4 separate regions of the Homo sapiens genome follow, and regions 2, 3 and 4 are each linked to region 1. Evidence: promoter capture Hi-C in human tissues and cell types (Jung and others, 2019). All regions are on one chromosome and are shown on one strand. The core of a region is centred on a gene start or on the middle of the fragment in contact, and the rest is flanking DNA. Distances in the headings are between cores, read along the strand shown.

Evidence for each region. The method cuts DNA at HindIII sites, captures the fragments that hold promoters and counts their contacts. A contact is called where the count stands out against the background at its distance.
Region 2: a contact is called between a fragment that was not itself captured here and the fragment with the promoter of KCNJ12 in region 1, in 2 of the 25 tissues and cell types used here (H1 embryonic stem cells and IMR-90 fibroblasts).
Region 3: a contact is called between a fragment that was not itself captured here and the fragment with the promoter of KCNJ12 in region 1, in 2 of the 25 tissues and cell types used here (H1 embryonic stem cells and mesendoderm cells).
Region 4: a contact is called between a fragment that was not itself captured here and the fragment with the promoter of KCNJ12 in region 1, in 3 of the 25 tissues and cell types used here (IMR-90 fibroblasts, dorsolateral prefrontal cortex and spleen).

The regions. Positions count from the first base shown.
Region 1 is chr17:21,375,043-21,377,843 of GRCh38, forward strand. KCNJ12 (potassium inwardly rectifying channel subfamily J member 12) reads left to right here and starts at 1,315. Exons shown (of 3, transcript NM_021012.5): 1 at 1,315-1,871. The HindIII fragment of the contact is 9,762 bases long and covers 1-2,801 here.
Region 2 is chr17:21,477,474-21,480,433 of GRCh38, forward strand. No RefSeq gene overlaps it. Among named protein-coding and RNA genes, the nearest start is that of LINC02693, 73 kb to the right of the region's middle. The HindIII fragment of the contact is 5,667 bases long and covers 1-2,960 here.
Region 3 is chr17:21,497,413-21,500,145 of GRCh38, forward strand. No RefSeq gene overlaps it. Among named protein-coding and RNA genes, the nearest start is that of LINC02693, 53 kb to the right of the region's middle. The HindIII fragment of the contact is 4,866 bases long and covers 1-2,733 here.
Region 4 is chr17:21,446,321-21,449,422 of GRCh38, forward strand. No RefSeq gene overlaps it. Among named protein-coding and RNA genes, the nearest start is that of KCNJ12, 72 kb to the left of the region's middle. The HindIII fragment of the contact is 6,245 bases long and covers 1-3,102 here.

The DNA of each region.
Region 1 (2,801 bases), core at 65-2,564:
TGTTTTACCAGCCAAGTCAAGTGCTAAGCACTTTAGGTAGACTCATCTCATTTAATCCTTGCTACAGCCCCATGAGTGTAGTGATTTCTACTGACAACAGGGAAACAGAGGCACTGAGTGGTGAAGTGACCTGTCCCACAGCTAGTCAGTTGAGGTGGGATTCAAACCCAGGGCAGACTGATGTCGGTGAGTGCTGGGCTGGATTTCACCCACCAGCTGCCTGGGGCCAGGATCCTAGGGCTGGTGGGGCCTGCAGATCACTCTGCTCTGAGCCGCCAGCAATCTGGGTGCGGGCCAGAGAGCCGTCCTCCTCGGTTAGAATCCTGCAGCCAGTCTCCCTGCTGTGCAGACACATAATTATATTTCACATTAAAGGGGAAGCTGGAGGCCAAGGGGGCCAAGGAGCCCTTTGAGGCTCATGCTCTGGGCACAGACTGGCCTCCTCGGCCCAATTCTGAGGCCCTAGGGCCGAGCTGGGGGTCAGACTGGTGACAAAATGGAGTTCCCCTGGGTCAGTGTCCAGGCGAGCAGGTCTGTCTGCCAGGATGAAAGACTTGGCCCCTGCGGGAGGCTCAGAGATATGAGGCCCAGACAATAGGCCTCAGAAAGCTGGGAGGGCAGGGCATTTGGGGACAGGTTGGGAAGAAAGCCTGAGCCTCCAGAGACAGGGGCTCGAAAGAGAAGGGGGTCACATGGGGATCCGGTCGGCAGAGAGAGGTCCAGGGAGGAGCACAGAGAAGGCAGGAGATGGGAGAAGCCAAGCAGCTCAAGATGGAGAGGAGAAAAATGCTATTAGGGTGGGATGGTGTGTGTAGAGGGTGCGTGCCTGGTGTGCAGGGGAAAAGGGCTCTGTGGGAATGCACAAGCTTAGACCTGTGTGTGCGTATGCACACGTGCAGATGCCATCCTGCATGTGCACATATGAGCGAGTGTGCACATGTGCCCCTGCGAACATCATGCATGTGGGGGCATGTATCCTGCATGTTTATGCCTGTGTGTGTGCTCGCCATGCACCTGTGCGTGCGCGCGTGTCCCCGGCGGACGTGCCTGCATGTGTGTGTATGTGTGTGTGCGCGCATGTCCCCGGGAAGTCGTGCCTGTGTGTGTGTGTGTGTGTGTGTGTGTGTGTGTGTATATATATATGTGTGTGTGCGCGCGCGCGTCCCAGTGCGCAAGTGGCTGGCGGTGTGTGTGTAGGGGGCGGCCCGGGACTAGGAGGGGCTCGGGGCCAGGCCGGAGCCGTGGTAGGCTGGTGCAGCGGCTGCGCGGCGCGGCGCGGCGCGGGGCGGGCGTGCTCTCCGCGGAGAGTTAGAGGAGTTGCCGAGCTGAGCTCCGGTGGAGCGAGGCGCGGAGCTGGGTGCGCGCCGAGCCTCTGCCTCCCGCCGCCTCCTCGCCCTCCATTCCTCGCTCCCCGTCTTCTCCCGGCCACACCGCCACTGCTGCCGCCTCCCTGGGAACAGTAGCCGGGGGAGGGGGACTGGCGCGGTCAGAGCCTGCGAGGAGGTGCGGGGCGCCGGGGCGTAGGGGAGCGCGCCGGGCCCTGCCCGAGATCAGATAACAGCCGGCGGGGGAGGGGGTGGGCCGGCCGTGCTCACAGCCGGACCGAGGGACCGACGCCAGCCGCCCCGGCCCAAGCGAGCGCCCAGCGGCCGGGGGCGCCGTCCAGGCGCGCGCCCCCGACCCGTGGCTGGACCAGGGCGATCCGCTTTGCAGAGAAGACGCGCCCCTCGGCATGGAGCGCCCCCGGGAGCTGCCCTGAGGCGGTGGCGGCAGCGGCGGCGATGCAGCCAGCGCGGCAGCTGCCGGGGCCAGGAACGGCCGCCCGGAGCTTGGAGGACGCCGAGCGCGCCGCGCCCGGGCCACTGACCGAGGTAAGTGCGCGGCCGCGGGCGCATGGTCCCTCCCGGGCCCGGCCCCAGTTCCCCGCAGGCCGCGCCTCGCCACTAGCCCGGCCCGGAGCTAGCACGAGGTTGTGCAGCAACAGGGAAGGTGGAGCGGGAGGGTGTTTTCTTCCTCTCGTTTTATTTTTTTCCCTCCCTTGGTGAGACATCGGAGGAAATGCTGACTGCGAGCTTTTCTTTTCCTGCCATGTCTCCGGCTACCACCACAAGGAACTTTGCTCCTGGCTAACCTTCGTCCTGGGGGGCGCTCCGGGAAACTTTGAGGAGCCCTCGGCCCCCCTCTGACTGGTTTGCACTAGGGGGCTCGGGAGGGAGCGTGCGGAAGCACTCTGGCGCGCGGCACGGGTCCTACGCGTGACCTTCCCGGAGACCCCGCGATCGAGGTGGGGTTCGGAGGTGGGCGCCCGGGCTATATGAGCCGCCCCGAGAATGCCTCCCGTCAGAGACCTGCGGGTTCTTGGAGTCGTGTCTCTTTCTCACCTCCCGTGCTGTAATGGAGTAAAAATATTCTGGAAATGATTCCATGCCAGCAAGTCAGCCAAGTCCAGAGGCTCCCTTTTGCTTTTAGAAGTCGGCCTTGATCTCCGAGGGGATGGCCGCTGGCTGAGAAGCTCCCAGGGTTTCAGGGCCAGGGTCCACCCTGCGCGCGCACGGCCTCTCCGGGTGCCCTGGGGGAGCGGGGCGGGAATCAGGGGCTCATGGGCAGAGACAGCTGGGGTGGGGCGCTCCTTGGGGGGTTCAGATGGGAGTTGAGGCCCAAGCGAGTGTCTGTGCCTCGGTTTTGATCCAGCGTGCCCATGTCATGTGAATATTTTAAAACCTGTGATCAGAATGGGGGTCAAAGTGTTTCTTTGGGGACGGTCTTGTTCTGGGAGGTTTTCCTGCCTCCTCACAGCCTGG
Region 2 (2,960 bases), core at 53-2,552, 100 kb after region 1:
AGTTGGGAATTTTAAAAGGTGAGGTTTGCTCTCCAGCGCTGGTCCCTTCCAGGTGTGACCTTCACATCTTCTTTCCATGAGGTCCGGGCTCCCATTTGCAGAGGCCGACAGTTCCCAGAGTGACTTTCCTCAGAAAACAGGATCTTAGAGGAGACAGTCAGAGGAGGGGCTTCATCCTCCCCCCTGCACAGCCCCTTGTAGGGATTGGAAAGCGAGGGTCTCTGCCCATGAGGCAGCAGTCACCTTAAGCTGTAGTGTGGGAGGAAGCCTAGGGAATATAGGTTGGTGCTGGGACAGCATTTCCTGGTTCTGACTTAGAGAAAGTGTTAAAATCCCGACATTCCCGACTCCTTCTTTGTGGGAGCCCCTGCCCTGCAGATCTCACGGGGTTGTTGTGAGGGTCACCTGGGGTGATGTGTTTGGAAGTGCTTTGTGAATGACACAGTGGGCCTTCCTATTCCTGTCGCTGGCCCTTCAACCTTGAATACTAATTTCCTGGGATCTCCAGGTTTCAAGGTCTAATCCTGGAAGGGTATGAGGTGTCCCCATTGGAACATTCTACAGCACTTCCTGGGAGGTCCCTTGCTTCCACCTTTGCCCAACATAACCCCTGCTCCTGTTCCCTCAGCCTGGAGAGCTTGCCCAGGGGCACAAGATGGTACTGGACTGAACTTCTCTTTGGGGAAGGTGATTACTTCCTCTTTTCAGCTGTCCCTCTTCCTAACTTGCCCTGTGGAATTCCAGGGCTCTATGCAGCATTTGCCAGACATGAGAGAGAGAACTTCTAGGGCAGGGATCTGCCCTGGGTGGGGATGGAGGAGTATTCTAGAGTCTGGGTGTCAGAAGTGTGAGCCCTGCCCAGGGGGGTGATGGACTATCCCTGGGGGCCAACATGCTGCTGTGTGGGAAGCCAGGGAAGATGCTGCTCTTTCCCATCACCTTTGGGATCTATGGAGTTGTCCACCCCGACCCCCGGTCTCCTCACCAGTGGCCTCCACCTTCCCCCTGACCTGTGCCGCCCCTCATGTGAGGTTTCATCACCTGCACCAGTGCCTGCCTCTCTGCCTCCAGACCCATGGCTCATGGCCCTCTCTCTCCTCACCCCTTCCATGCCTGTTCCCTCTTCCCCTAGAGCCCATTTCCATCCATACCCCACCGAGTCTTTCACCACATCCTCACCTGACCCCGCACCTCCCCAGCCCACCTTTCCCTTGAAGGAGTGAATGCCATCCCAAAATATGCCCAATTGGTATATTGATAATTTTATGTTAAAAACATTAGAGAAATTGTAGTTTTAGAAAGGGTGAGCTGACCTGCCTCTTCCTGCATGTAGCAAGCCATAAAGACTCCTCTGGGGGCGGCACCCCCACACAAGGGCAAGAAGAGAGCCTTTAGCACCAGAGACTGGGGATTAGGGGTAGCAACGGACCCGAGTAAATGTACTTCACGAAGTAAGCCGTGTTGCCCACTGATTTTATATTCCTGCATATCACCTAGAGGCTCCCCTGGAAATTTACTGTCCCTAGCCAGATTCTGCTTGGCCTTGTCATTTCTTCTCAAATTTATTATTCTTTGTCTAAAAAGTACAAAAGCATCTTGCTTTGGCTACTTCTTCAGACGTCACTAATTTGGGAAGATCCCCATGTACCTTTAATATAATACAATTTTTATGCTTTTCTCTTGTTAATATGCTTGGTTTCAATTTGGTTTCTAGCCGAGGTTCCAGCCAAGGATCCCATGTAAGAGCTAAGTGGGGTTGGAGGCGATCTCTGGGTCTCTGCAGAACGTGGCGCAGAGCCCGGGGCCCTCCCTCACAGGCTAGGACGCTGCTTATTCTGGAGCTACTGCAGCTAAGACCCGGGACCTCTGACCCGAGCCAGCAAAGGCAGGGTTCTTACTGCCAGCCTTCCAGGTCTCTGCTGTCTGTGTCTTTTTCTCTCTCTAAATTGGGATTGACAGGATAAAAGATTTGTGTCTTTTTCTGTCTCTAAATTGAGATTGACAGGATAAAACATTTGTGAACTAATTCTTTGGGTAAAAAGCGACTTTTAGTGTTTTTGTGAGTTCTCTAGGTTTCTATTTGATCCTTTTGATCTCAGAGATGGTCTTTGTTTTCCTTTGTCTCTGTCTTTTTCCTGCCATTTGTCATAAGGAGAGGAAGCGTCAGGTAGAGAACACAGGCACAGGTCCTTCAAAGTCTGCTGGGTCCCCAGCGCTTGGGTTTGTGGCACTTGTCAGACCCATGTCTGCCTAAGCAAACTGTGCTGTGGGTCCCTGAAACAAAAAAACAAAAGGGATGGGGTTCCCCTCTCGCCTCGTTTTATGTCCTGAGAGCTTGGCTGTGTGACAAGGAGGACGCCTCTCTGGTCTCCGCCATCTGAGGGGCACAGAGTGTGGCTCTGTGTCAGGCAGCAGTCTGACCAGACTGGGGACTCAAGACGCATGAGGCCCAGGTGGCACTCTCTCTGTCTGTATGTGTCAAGCGCTCACGGAGTTTTGTTGTAAGACGCCAATTCATAAGGGCTTTCTTCATCTTATCCTTGTTGCCCTGATTAGTGCTGGGAGATTCCCATTCCAGTATCACCTGCCCAGTGTCACAGTGAGTGGACCTGAGGCTGAAGGCATCTCAGCTTCCACGGGAGACTGGAGGTGTGGTCTGCACAAGCACTCTCCCTACCTGCACGTGGCAACGCAAGTCTTTGCTTTCTTCATCCATCTCTGAGAGTGAATTTTTGGATGACGGGCTGCCTTTTCTGCACGTACTGCAGGAAGACGCCTTGCGTTCTGGTAATGATGGGAAGCCACCTCCTGGCCTTTCCCTGGAAAGGCAGATTAAGGCACTACTGGAACATATGCACCGGCGTAGATCTGAATTGGCCACGGCCAGAGATGGATTTGTGTTTAAAACATGTTAGAGAGTGCTCGTTCTAAACAACTGGTCTGTTGGCATCTATGGGAAG
Region 3 (2,733 bases), core at 187-2,686, 120 kb after region 1:
CCTGCAGTCTTCCAAGGCCCCCAGACTTGCCTTGTCCCCTCTCACAGGAGTGCTCTGTCTGCCTGTTGATGCTGGAGGTGCAGGTGGGAGCTTCTCGGGCCAACTGCTGGGGTCTCTGTCTCCTCAGATCTGCTGCAGGAGAACATCTTCCTGTAACCTCATCCTGTGTGTCTGCCCATTGGCTCTGCCAACTCACGGGGTGGCTGACATACTCTGGACAAGACACCCACCAGCATGAGTTTGCCTCTTCTTTGTCACGGCAGTAAGGCTTTGTTCTAATTGTGTCACAGGAGCATTGAGGAGGACAGAAGCAGCAACTGTGACCTCCCCCTTGGCCATCAGAGGCACAGCTCTGCCCAGCTGCAGGCCACCTGCGGGCAGACCATGGCTCTCTGACACTCTGCATTTGAAAGCAAGTCTACAGTTGTCTTCCAAAGTGCTGACTCTTTTGAAACATCATCAAAAAGAAAAAAGAGGAGAGATTGGAAGAAAAGCTGTGAGATGATGGAGGCCTGAGAGGGAGAACTGAAGAAGGGTGGAGGACCTCAGGCCAGGGCCAAGAGGGACCAGCACTAAAGCCAAGGGTGGGCAGGAGCAGGGGCTTGTGGATGTCCCAACTCAGACAGTGCTGCCCTCTTGCACCATCCCTCAACATACAGGTGGGCAGTGTGACTGCCTGTGCCAAGGTGGGCAGGAAGGGGAACTGCCTCCTATCAAGGTATGGGAATTTCCTCCTGTGTAGGGAAGTGGAGAACCTATTATTTTTGCTACAACAATGTTCCTTCTCATCTTGTCTCCCTCAAATAGATGCTGGGATCCTGGCCAGGAGGTGCTGTCTTCCGGTTTTCTGTCTGTCCCTGGGCTGGAGTCTCAAGTGACAGGACAGGACACCTGGCAGACTCCTGAAAAACTCTGGCATGCCTGCAGTGTGCCCTGAAATGGACGCTGCCGTCCCTGCAACAGGGACACATGCTCCTTTCTCTAGAGTTACAGTGTCTTCAGGCTTTTCATCTTCATGGAGGTCAGTTTTTACCTTAAGTTATTAATTTTCTTACAACATTTAGCATCTTGGCAGCAGGCTGTGATGCTTGAGCGGTGCTCACACACTGAGTTCTTAGACCTGATAATGCTTATTTTAAAGTTGCAAGGTCTACTACATTGACCCGAGGAATAAAAATTAAATCTTAAGTTCCCCCAGTTGACTGATAGAACCCTCTCTTGGCCAAAGGGCCCCAGAGAAACCTTAAAAACTGAGCTCCTGGCCATGATGGGATGGGAGGTCAGATACACTTCACCATGTCCCTTCCATATTAACCTTTAGCCAGAACTCTTTCCTAAGGAGTAAGCAGAAACCAGCTCTGGCAAACAAGAAACACAGGACTCATTCCTTTATCATCTGTAGCCAATCATCTGAGGCCGTGGCTGGACTCACCCTACCTCTTTGCAGTTTTGGAGTGACAGTCACCAGCTTCACAGTGCATCCTTCCTAAAATGGACCACCGCCTCTGGACCAGTTTTGGCTGGCTCACAGAGGATGCACAGTGAGTGGTTTGTGGCCCCTGCTTCACCTTTTGATGTCAGAGGCTAAAAACTACACCCTCGCATGAACACGTGACCCATGAAGAGGCATGAAACTCAATGGCACATTCACATTTCTCCTTTCATAAATATTCATTGCTCCTCCTATAGTTTATTGAATATGTATGTTCTGCCACTCCATTCAGCATAAATTCCACACAGAATACAGTCTCTCCTTCATATCCACGGGTTCTGCATCCATGGATTCAGCCAACCTCGATTCAAAAACATTTGAAAAAAAAGAATGATTGTGTCTGTACTAAATGTACAGATTTTTTCTTGCCATTATTCTCTGAACAATACAATATAACAACTATTTACATAGCATTTACATTGTATTAGATATAAGTAATCTAGAGGTGATTTAAAGCAATCTTGTCCAACCTGTGGCCTACCCTCCAACACAAATTTGTAAACTTTCTTAAAACATTATGATTTTTTTTTTTGCGATTTTTTAAAGCTCATCAGCTATCGTTAGTGTTAGTGTATTTTATGTATGGCCCAAGACAATTCTTCTTCCATTGTGGCCCAGGAAAACCAAAAGATTGGACACCCCTGATTTAAAGCATGTGGAGGATATGTGTAGGTTATATGCAAATACTATACTTTCATATATAAGGGACTTGAGCATCCGGTAATTTTGGTGTCCAAATCACCAAAACCCTTCCAGAGGAGGAGTTTTGGGACCAATCCCTTTGAAGATACCAAAGGATAATTGTATTTCTCTGATCACTGGTCACTAAAAAGTGTAGAGATTTCTCCGCACCAACCATTCCTTCAGCAGATAACAGCTGGGTGTCTCCTAATTCAATTCCATTCTGAAACTCTCTACCTGGACAGTGTCAGACCTCACAGGTTAAGGGCTCAGTCCCACCAGACTGTCCCTGCTTCAGATGCCAGTCACAAGTAGTAGGTTGTGACCTGTGCTCCTGCCCAACTGGCTGCAAATCAGGATTCCCAGCATCCCCTCCTCGGGTTTGATTAATTTGCTACAGTGGCTCACAGAGATCAGGGAAACACTTTACTTACACTTCTTCATTTATTACAAGGGATATTTCAAAGGATGAAAATGAAGAGGCAGATGGAAGAGGTGCGCAGGGTGAGGCATCTGGGAAGGGGCTCAGAGCTCCCACACCAGCTCCAGACACACCACCC
Region 4 (3,102 bases), core at 577-3,076, 72 kb after region 1:
TTCAATGGTTGAACTAATTTGCACTCCCAACAACAGTGTATAAGCGTTCCCTTTCCTCCAGCATCTGTCATTTTGTGACTTTTTAATAATAACCATTCTGACTTGTGTGAGAAGATATCTCATTGTGGTTTTGTTTTGCGTTTCTCTAATGATCAGTGATATTGAGCTTTTTTTTCATATGCTTGTTGGCCATATGTATGTCTTCTTTTGAAAAGTGTCTCTTCATGTCCTTTGCCCAGTTTTTAATGGGGTTGTTTTTCTCTTGTAAATTTCTTTAAGTTCCGTAGAGATGCTGAATATTATGTCTTTGTCAGATGCATAGTTTGCAAATATTTTCTCCTATTCTGTAGGTTTTCTGTTTACTTTGTTGATGGCTTCTTTTGCTCTGCAGAGGCTCTTAAGTTTAATTAGATTCCATCTGTCAAATTTTGCTTTTGTTGCAATTGCTTTTGGTGTCTTCATCATGAAATTTTTGTCCGTTTCTATGTCCAGGATGGTATTGCCTAGGTTGTCTTCCAGGGTTTTTACAGTTTTGGGTTTTGCATTTTAGTCTTTAATCCAGCAGTCCACAACCTTTTTGGCACCAGGGACTGACTCTGTGGAAGACAATGTTCCCACAGAGAGCAGTAGGCAGGGAGATGATTTCGGGATGAAACTGTTCCACTTCAGATCATCAGGTATTAGTTAGATTCTCAAAAGGAGTGCACAACCTAGATCCCTCACATGTGCATTTCACGATAGGGTTTGCACTCTTATGAGAATCTAATGCTGCTGCTGATCTGATGGGAGGTGGAGCTCAGGTGGTAATGCTTGCTTACCAGCCACTCACCTCCTGCTGCACGGCCTGGTCCCTAACAAGCCACAGAATGGTACCAGTCCATTGCCCAGGGGTTGGGGACCTCTGCTTTAATCCATCTTGAGTTAATTTTTGTATATGGTGAGAGGAAGGGGTCCAGTTTCAATCTTCTGCATATGGCTAGCCAGCTATCCCAGCACCATTTATTGAATAGAGAATCCTTTCCCCAGTGCTTGTTTTTGTCAGGTTTGTCAAAGATCAGATACTTGTAAGTACGCGGCCTTATTTCTGGGTTCTCTATTCTGTTCCATTGGTCTATATGCCTGTTTTTGTCCCGGTACCATGCTGTTTTGATTACTGTAGCCCTGTAATACTGTTTGAAGTCAGGTAGCGTGATGCCTCCAGCTTTGTTCTTTCTGCTTAGGATTGCCCCTGGGCTATTCTGGTTCCATATGAATTTTAAAATAAAAACTCTCAACTTTCTCTTTGTTCTTGGAACACACTGAAGACCACCCGATCTGTGAGTATGCCCCACTTTGCCATTCTTGCCTCCTAAATAATCAGTGTTAAGTTTAGAGAGTCATCTCTATATTTTATTTGACTTCAGCAATGTAAACTGTGAGTCAGAGCTGCAGTGGTGGAGGCTGCAACCTTGGCAGCGGGAAGGTCAGTTCACAGGGTTTCTCGGCATGCTCCTCCTGTGTCCCCACCGTCTATAGGTGCCCTCCATCATACATGTGCCCTTGGCTTGTAGACTGGCCTGATCTTTCCAGAACTATTTTTGGTCATGCCTCATGCATGAGCTTGTGCCTGAGCACAATGATGTGAAAATTAATTTAGTCATATCTTGTCCAAACTAAAAACATTGAACCATTTTAAAGGAAAGCAGCTTCCCAATGTTGCCATATATTGTTTTAAAATAATTGTAAAAAGTAGTTGCTCACGTAACAGCACTGGGCCTGCCATTGACCTTGCACGAGATGCCTCACACACATCTGAGAGGCTGTTACTGTGGACGCAGTCCTCAGTGCTGCTGCTGCATGGGACCCTGCTTCAGAGGAGCTCTGCAACAGCAAAAGTGCCAAGCAGATCGAAGAGGACACAGCAGGACCATGTGGGGCCCTCCTCCCAGTGGTCAGTTACATCTTTTGGTATCATGGTGGAGGTTGGGGGTGCCCCTGAGCTTCCTGTGCCCCCTTCCCATGCCCACTGTACCCACCATGACAAGCTGAGCATGTTTCTGTAGCCATCCTCTACCCTGAGTAGATACTCTGCATTTTTACTGTGCAATGCTTTCAGGACTGTGCCTCTGTGGTCACCCCTGTCGTCCAGCTCCGTTATGGCCATGGGAACCAGAACCTGGCATGTTCCAGCACCTCATTCTGCAGTTAGAAATCAACAAAACCTCCCAAATGGGAGAGGAGGGCCTAAAACCCTTGGGAAATTTCCTTTGCGAGATTTTCATGAGACTTGGAATGTCCTGAAGTTTAATATGTGAAGGTATTTGAATGACACATAGAACTCCGTGTAAGACAGGTGTAGCCAAAAGAGAAAACCATTCATGTCAACAGTCTCCCTCGTGCTCTTTCAGAGACCCTCTGAATTATAGCACCCAGAGGCCCTGGATGTCTTGGGAGCGGATGAGCCCCATGCACAGGCAGGAGAGTGGCGCATTCTCTGGGTAACGAAGTATCCTATAGCTAGAAGATTAGAAACAATTCTACATGAAACATTTGAAAGTATCTTTTGATCAGTTTATTTATTTCTGAAGACATAGATTTCCTTTGGGAAACAGTAGCCCAGAGAAAGGTCTCCACAACCAAAAAGCACTGTGAATTGTTAGTTGCATTTTGCCTGGTCACGTGAGTGAATTTCCTCCTGGATTGCATTGAATCTGCACTGTTTTGGAGACTGGCAGATCCGTCGTTGATAAAGCCACATGTGCAGGGTCATCATCAGTTGATGTACTTCCATCCTAGCTGATACTGTTGATTTTTCCCTGCCAGGAAGCTTCCTGACACAGCCTGCACCCCAGTGGACTTCCCAAAGCAAGTTGAGTCTGACTTCGCACCCCTGACATCAGAATCATCTGACTTCTGGGCACGCCACTGAATACTGATGTACCTGAAGGAACCCTGGGTACCAAACATGCTCAAGTGAATGAATGGTGTCCAGGACAAAGCCCAGCAGGTGTCCAGACAATGGCCTCCCACCAGAGATCTTGTCAGCACGCCGCTCTGAGCACTGTGTGCCTTAGTGTCTTTGTGTCCTGGTTGCAATGAAGTCTTTCTCCATAATGTCAGTTT